Regions from separate parts of the Homo sapiens genome. Here region 2 is linked to region 1. Evidence: promoter capture Hi-C in 16 types of primary human blood cells and fetal thymus (Javierre and others, 2016). All regions are on one chromosome and are shown on one strand. Each heading gives the region's core, a stretch centred on a gene start or on the middle of the fragment in contact. The rest is flanking DNA. Distances are from core to core; before and after follow the strand shown. Region 1 holds the start of DOCK9-DT (DOCK9 divergent transcript). Region 2 has its middle 24 kb from the start of LNCARGI.

Evidence for each region. Contacts are between HindIII fragments. The CHiCAGO score rates a contact against its expected background, and 5 or more counts as called.
Region 2: a contact is called between a fragment that was not itself captured here and the fragment with the promoter of DOCK9-DT in region 1, in 1 of 17 cell types (total B cells). The highest score is 5.0, in total B cells.

Annotation. Positions count from the first base shown.
Region 1 is chr13:99,084,467-99,088,531 of GRCh38, forward strand. It overlaps DOCK9-DT (DOCK9 divergent transcript), which reads left to right and starts at 2,257. Exons shown (of 1, transcript NR_047482.1): 1 at 2,257-4,065. It also overlaps a transcript of DOCK9 not described here. RefSeq lists silencers at 1,589-2,068, 2,109-2,418, 2,509-2,568, 3,149-3,378 and enhancers at 2,259-2,820, 3,383-3,942. The HindIII fragment of the contact is 5,433 bases long and covers 620-4,065 here.
Region 2 is chr13:99,455,099-99,459,168 of GRCh38, forward strand. No RefSeq gene overlaps it. Among named protein-coding and RNA genes, the nearest start is that of LNCARGI, 24 kb to the left of the region's middle. The HindIII fragment of the contact is 684 bases long and covers 1,742-2,425 here.

The DNA.
Region 1 (4,065 bases), core at 1,007-3,506:
TGCTTAAGGGTGTCCAGGGAAAACGGATGTACTACTAAAGTATCATGAGATAACACAGTTGGCAGCCTGTCACACGTGGGAATGGACACTCCTAGGTCACCATTAGTAGGCCATCCTCCGATGGGAAGGGCAGATATTCGGGGACTACTGCACATCAGCAGTGTTGTGTCTGCACCAGCACTCCTGGGCTCCATCTACACGGCTTATTAAACCAGTACCTGCAGCACTTTGGAAATCATGGCACACTGGTACACTTTATTTACTCTTCTTCTGCCTCAAATCCCTGATGACCACGGCAGGCCCCAGATAAAGGAACCAACTTCTGTGTGAGAACAGAAAAGATGCCAAAGAAGTTGCAGGCTTTATCCTTAACATGCACTGGCAAAACTCAGGAAGATGCAGGAAGCCACACAGAAGTTAGCTGGTTATGGAAGAGATGGCCAGGTTCTGGTCTATTCCCAACTCCTGCTCTACTCCTTACCTAATCGACTTCCCTAAAATAGAAAAATTAAATCCTTGTTTACTATGGATCAAACTGGAGTTGGAGAAATTTGGAGTTGGCAGAGCTAGCAATCGAGAGAAAATTCAAACTGAGCAAACTGGATATAGAAATCAGCGAAGCTTCATCTCCAATCTCCACAAACGTCATTCACGCAATTCTGTGTCTGCCCAGGAAGGGCATCGATCTGCCACCAAAATGATGCATCCGCCCCTGTGTTAAGGGGCCCGGCACTCTGCCCCGACAATCCCCCACAGGGCCCAGACAACCACTTCCAAGGCCCATCTTCTTGCACTGTTCCAACAAACACAAGTCACACCCACCCACAAACAAGCCCGTTTCAAGAAAACAAATGCCGGCGGCAACGCAAGGAGCTGCTAAAAGTTTCCAGCTGCCCTGCAGAGCTCGCTCCTGCTCAAACGTCGCTCCACTCCCGCACCATCCAGGTGAATCGGGTTGTAGTGCGTTTCCAAATACAGCAGGACCGGCGCTGGCTGTGAAAAAGTTAATCGAAAACTTCATCTTCCTCACACCCAGAGGCCTATTCTCTAAAGACGTTCTGCCACGGGAAGATTCGTTTTGGGCTGATGGCTTTGCTTACTTAGAACCCCCAAACGTCACAGGAATTTGCACCAATACTAAATTAGCGAGGGTTCCCATCATGCCCCCCAAGCCTTCCTAAAAGGCGGCCAAACTTCAGGATACCGGCTTGGAGGTGGGGGGCGCAGGAGAGGATGCCGAAGTCCTTCCCTCCTGGAGTTCAGCCAACTCAAAGGGTTAGCAGGGGCATCTCCCACCCTGAGCGCAGACTGGATGAGGAAGCCCCCACCTCAATTCCCCTGCGCCCCTCCAAAACATGGAAGGAGAGGGAGGCCGGGGGAGGGATACGGGGGAGGGATGCGGGGGAGGGGGGAGAGTGTAATTTCCCAGTTGACAGAAAGCAGGTAAATTGGGAGAGAGCGGGGTGAAAAGAGTGACAGGGCGACATCACTCTGCGGAAATTTCCCAGGAGGAAGGGGACAGCGATGGGGACAGGATCTTGGGTGGCGGGGAGGGGTCTGGGAGTTGCAGCCCCTCCAGGACCTTCTCTTCTCCCCTGTCCAACTCCCTCCCGCCGGCCCCACCTCTTGATTCCGCGGACCCAGCAGGGTCGGCCGCTCTGCCTCAGCCCTGCCGACTAAGAGGCGCCCGGCCCGGGGCCCGCAGCTGCCTGCGCCCCCGCCATCCTCCCCCGGCCCGCGGTCGTCCCGCACTCACCAGGAGCACGGAGCCGCGCACCACCTCAGACACGCTCTGCCGCAGCTCGGCCGCCGTGCCCGGCTTACTCAGCGCCCGGGTGAACTTCCGAGTCTCCGCCGAGGCGGGGAGCAGCGGCGGCTGCGACATCCTCCTGCCCCCGCCGCCTCCGCCTCCGCCTGCTCCCGCGGCCCGGCCCGGCCGCGCGGCCGCCAGGTGCGCCCTCGGCGCCCGGCCCGCTCCGCCCGCCGCTCCCGGCGCCGCCGCCGCCTGCTCCCCCCGCTGCTCGCCGCGAGTCCGGCCGCCGCAGCCCAGGCCGCGCCCTCTGCACCGTGTCACGCCCCAAGGCGCCCCCCTCGGCGTCCGCGGCCCCCCGCGATCGCAGCAGCGCCCGGGCTCGCTCCGGGCGACCGTGCGTGTGGCGGCGGCGGCTCCCCCATGCCACCAGCCTCCCTCGGCGACCACTCGCCGGGCCGCCTCCTCGGGGCGGGGTGTCCGGCGCGGCGCGGGCGGGGCGGGGCGCCCGGACGGCGGAGGAGGGGCCGCCGCGGCGGGACGGCGGGCCAGGCAGGTCGGCGCGGCCCGGCGCTGGAGCTAGGCGGCCGGACTGGCAGGGGCGGCGTGCCGCGCGGGACCCTCACTGGGGAAGGTGGGGGGTCGGGGCCGCCTCCGCCCCGGGCCGCACGTCCGAAGACCGGAGGAGGGGACTGCGCACGCCACCAAGAGGGCGCACAGCCGAGGCTGGACGATGCGCGGTTTCGGAGCAGGGTTTCCTGCCCAGGGAGCCCGGCTGCGCTCGAGGGGACCCCGAAGTCACCGGCAGGGTCGGAGCTCGGTGCACCACGCCCCCCCTCTGCGCCCGGGGCCTCTGCGGGGACAGAGGTCTCAGGAAAGTAGCCTTTATTTATGTGGCACCGATCGGAACCCGCGGCCGGCCAGGCGGACCTGGACGGAGCGTCCCTGCTCGGAACCTGGCGCGGGGCGCCGCGCGCTCGTGTGGCGCCTCGGCCTCCCCACCGTTCAGTCCCCGGAGGCACGGAGCTCGCGGCGGGACGATGACGGTTGGGCCGGGCCAGGCGTGGGAGACTCCCAGACTCCGGCCCGCCGGGACGGCCAGCTGCGTCACCTTGGACGTGGGCAATACTTCGGAGCCTCGGTTATGTCGCCTGTAACCTGAGGACAACGGCCTGGAAGGGGCTCAGGTGACACGGCGGCCCTCACTGGGGCCGATTTAGCCGGTCTGCCGCCCCTCCGCGCCGGACCGCCAGGCGGGGTACCAGGGAAACTGCGATGCGCCGGCTTGCGAGCCCACCGTGACGCAGAGCTGGCGGCCGCTAGCGACAGCCACCCTGTGAGGGACTTTCCCCCCAATACCCTAACCGCTTTCCTGTCCCTAAGGGCCCGCTCCCGCCCCGGCTCCGTTTCTGTCTCTCTGAGGAAGCCCGGCGCAGCCTAACCCTCACAGGGCCGCGGAGAGGGCGCGCCAGGCGGGGATTTGCGCCAGGCCCGCGGCGCATGCTCAGTGGTTGGGGACTGGGCGGGTACCCCGGGCGGGGAGCCTGACTGAACGGCGGCTCTGCTGATTGGTCGGGCTGCTCACGCCACGCCCGTTGCCTTCCGATGGACAGTTCCTTACCTGCCGGGTCGGCCTCCGCAGAGAGTGGTGGTCTTGAAAACCCAGTTTTGGGAGAATACCTGCCGCGCCTCCCGCCCAAATACCCAGAGGTTTCATAGCCGCCATCGCTGCGGTGGAGGAGGCCGCCTGTTGCGTCCCACCCCACCAGAAAGCCTAACACTGGCCTGAAGCGTAATCTTAAAGTGGTAGGGGAAAATACCGATCTAGCGCAGAGAGCAAAACACCTCCGTTCTGGGTTTAATGGGCAGGTCTGGAGGTGAGGTATGCCGTCCGCACTCAATAATTACTTGCAGGATCGGATTGTTTCTCCAGTGGGTGGGGACTGCAGGATGTAGCATTGAGTGAGCCTGGCAGATTGAAAGATAAAACAAGGGTGATGATAAAAACAATTACACACTAACCCATTTCCTCCTCCGTGAAATGAGGGAATGGCCCAGACATTTTCCAGACCTCTTCTGTCCTAAGAGTGGAGCTGGGTGACAGAGCAGGTGCAAGCCGGCCTTTCCCTGCCTCCCCGGGGAACGCACTCTGTTCGGTGAGAGCAACTCAGCTCGCATTGACTCCTTTCAGCTGCAGGAGTGTGGCCGTTCAGTTCTCATTTGAACTGTTGACAACAGTTGTCTTCTGAGAATCATGAGTTAGAGCCTCCCTTTAGGCTTCTGACTCCCTCAAAAGTACCAGACAACACAAACTT
Region 2 (4,070 bases), core at 834-3,333, 370 kb after region 1:
GCGTCCACGTTAGGCTCAGTATGTATTGCACACCGTGGCAGGGAGTGTCTTCTTTTGGGTTCCCTCAGAATCAGACCCCAAGAAAAGGATTCCAATGCAAGTAGTTTCTTCTGGGGGAAATAAACTGCAAATGGACATGAGGGATCTTTTAAGGTGATGAGAATGTTCTCAAATAGGATTGTGGTGATGGCTGTGCAGCTCTGTAAATGTAGTAAAGATCATTGAATTGTACACTTAAAATGAGTGAATTTTATGGCATGTAAATTATTTTTCAATAAGGCTTTTAACCAATGGCACAGAAAGACTTAAAACAGGCACAGGGATTCAGAAACAGCCTGCCTCTTCATCTATCTCCATTAACAGACATCTTATTGCCCCTAAATCAGAATCCATTCTGCTGCTGGGGCAAAACAACATTTTTTTTTTTTTTTTTTGTAAGAGATGGGGTTGGCCGGGCGCGGTGGCTTACCCTTGTAATCCCAGCACTTTGGGAGGTCGAGGCGGGTGGATCACGAGGTCAGGAGATCGAGACCATCCTGGCTAACATGGTGAAACCCCGTCTCTACTAAAAATACAAAAAAGTTAGCCGGGCGTGGTGGCAGGTGCCTGTAGTCCCAGCTACTCCGGAGACTGAGGCAGGAGAATGTCGTGAACCCGGGAAGCGGAGCTTGCAGTGAGCCGACAGCGCGCCACTGCACTCCAGCGTGGGGGACAGAGAGAGACTCCGTCTCAAAAAAAAAAAAAAAAAGAGAGAGAGAGAGAGATGCGGTCTCATTATGTTGCTCAGGCTGGAATTGAACTCCTCCCATTAGCTGGGATTATAGGCACGCACTACCAAGTGCCTGGCTGGCTGCAAAACAACTTTTGCTGTTGGAAATCCATCAGACATTGATGGCTATAAGCTGGACAAGTGACCTAACTGCCTTGGGCCTCATTTTCTCCACAAGGACAGTAGTGGGTGTTCCTTACAGATCACAGGAGTGCCCAGCACCTCTAAATCTGATAACATTATACGTGTTACATGGTGCCCTCAGGGATGATTTCTTGGTGTTATTGGGGCATAAATACAGTAATGGGATCGTCATCCAAACAAAAGTGGATTGGAAAAGCATCCTAGTCCCAAGACGCTTTATAAAATGAATGTGACTTTTAAAATAAATAATATAACAGTGCTAATAAAGAAGAATGCAGCGCAGGGCATGCATAAGGCCAAGTACATTGGGGAAGAACGTTGCAGTGCGTAGCCTTCTGGGGGTGAGGCTTTTAACAATTTATAGGGTTATAGCAACTCAGCTTCAGGAAACCTCTAACTCAGCTTGATGAAGAATGAGAGGAATTTCCATTAGTTACTCCAGCTCTTACCCAGTACTCCTGATGATAAAAGAAAATGGAAACGACTGAAGCATGCTTTATATAACCAAGATTATTGATTTGATGAAAGCGGGTAATAAACTGCAGTAATGCCAGATGTGATTGGTTGAATTAGGTCATATAAACTCATTAGTTTTAGTCAAACTCTCTTTTAAACACAAGTCCAGAAATTTATCTTGCATTAGAACTTTTAGTAGCCCAGGTTTCTGTCATAATTTTCCCTCAACAGTTTTATAGTCAGTTGTGATTACCATCAGTGTTTTGAGATTGTACTTTATTAGCTGCTAAAAAAATTAAGTCAACCAATGAAAGCTATTTAGAGGTAAGTTTCATAAAATACTGTCTTCTGGGTGTCTTAATTTCAGAGTGAAGCTTATCAAAAGAAAAGAATATTGCACATGACCAACTTTTAAATGATTTTGTTTTCAGAAAGTGACAATTCTACTGGTGATTTTTATTATTTTCTTCATTTTTTCTGAATTTTATAAATATGCTAAAATAAATTGGAGGCTAGGACTGTTGGCTCACACTTGTAATTCCAGCACTTTGGGAGGACAAGGTGGGAGAATTGCTTGATCTCCGGAGTTAGAGACCGGCCTGGGCAAAATAGTGAGACCTTGTCTCTACAAAAATTGAAAAAAAAAAGTTAGCCAGGCATAGTGGTGCATGCTTATAGTCACAGCTACTTGGGAGGCTGAGGTGGGAGGATCACCTGAGCCTGGGAGGTTGAGGCTGCAGTAGGCCATGGTGGTGCCACTGCACTCCAATATGGGTAACAAAGCAAAACCCTGTCTTAAAAAGATGAAATAAAATAAAATAAAATAAACAATTGGTATTATTTTACTTTAGTTTTAGGCATTTTAGTTGGTTTAATTATGGCAAACAATATCCAAATATACTCCAGTCATAAAAGATTTCAGCAACCCTAAATTGCCTGCAGTAAAAAGTGAAGTCCTACAGCACTGTTACCACCAACCTCAACTTCCTTTGTGCTATAGTTGTGACAACCGTAACAATTTAATATGCATTCTGCTAACACTTTGCACTCATATGAAGCTTTCATGGCATTGTATGTTTTCATTATATAATATGTTGTGATTCACCTTTCGGCTTAACAAAATCTGGGTGATCTGTACATATACGTACTTCATTTTTTTTTTCATGGCTGCATAGTATTCTGGTGCCGTAGCTTATTTCACAATCCTCACATTGATGGACAGTCCCTTCGTTTTCCAGTTCGCTGGGCATTCTTTGTACATACACGTTCGCGCACAGGAACAAATATTTTGTAGGAAAGATTCCTAGAAGTAGAATTGGTGGATCAAAGGGTATTTGCATTTTTAGTTTCTGTAGATGCTGCCATATTTCTGTTCACACAGTAGCACAGTGGCCGTTCCCCAGGATGGGAGTGACTAGCATGCCAGGATGGGGGAAGCCTTCACAGAGGTGGTGAGGTGGGTTTGTTTTGTTTTTGAGACAGAGTCTCACTCTGTTGCCTAGACTGGAGTGCAGTGGCACGATCTCAGCTCACTGCAACCTCCACCTCCCAGGTTCAAGTGATTCTCCTGCCTCAGCCTCCCAAGTAGCTGGCATTACAGGCGTGTGCCACCATGCCCAGCTAATTTTTGTATTTTTTAGTAGAGACGGGGTTTTGCCACGTTGGCCAGGCTGGTCTCGAACTCCTGACCTCAGGTGATCTGCCCGCCTTGGCCTCCCAAAATGCTAGGATTACAGGTGTGAGCCACTGCTCTCAGCCTGAGGTGGTTTAAAAAGGTAAATAGGGATTGATTTGGAAGACAAGGGACAAAGTGGAAGGCACCATGCAAATATATTCCAGACAGCAGTAACAACATGTGTGAATGAAGGGAGAAATGGGCTGGTGGAAGTATAATCACAACGACAGAGTTTAATTCCCCATTTGTAATGGGCAAACAGATGGAGTAACAATAAATAGCCCAAGAAAAAGGGATCGAAACAATATAGCTAAGAAGGTAAATTAATCTATACCAGAACTTGTATGTCACAAAGAGAGGTTACATATTTTTCTTCTCCTTTTATTTGGAAGATGTTTACATCTGGAGAAAAGGGGAAAGAAGCAGACTTCTCCAGTGGGGCACTCAGTCTGGTGCCAGAAAGCATATCAAATCAGAGCACAGACCTGGCTGAACATGGGGCTACTTCCCAAGGTGTCAATTTTCTTTGAAGATTTTCAGGTGAGTAAAACATTGTTTTCATAATAAAACCAAATTGAATATTTCTGAAGCAGAATGCAAACTTTTTGTTACTTTTTAAGATGTCACTCAAACCTTCAAAGATGATTTTCTAAACCTCAGGAAGTGTACTAATTCCCCTTGGCCATCAGGAAGGCTTTGGTGGAAATGTTTGAAAAGCAGAAAACCAGAATGTCTCATTTGTCCCAATTTTACTATTTGGCCCCACCAGATCTTCAACTTTATTGTCACCATTTCTCTCCACTCCATGTGACCTGGCCTTTTGGGATTTTTTCTTATTTTCCAAATATTCCTGCATTAGCATCTATTTCACCCCTGCCTGGAATCATCCTTGAAAGGCCAATTCAAGCCTTACTTCTCTGAAACTTTTCTAAGCAGAATGGAAAGGCAAGAGTAAACCTTTGGCGACTGATAAATTGTATTAATGTATTGTTTCCAATTGTTCACTGCCTTTACCAGTAAGATTTC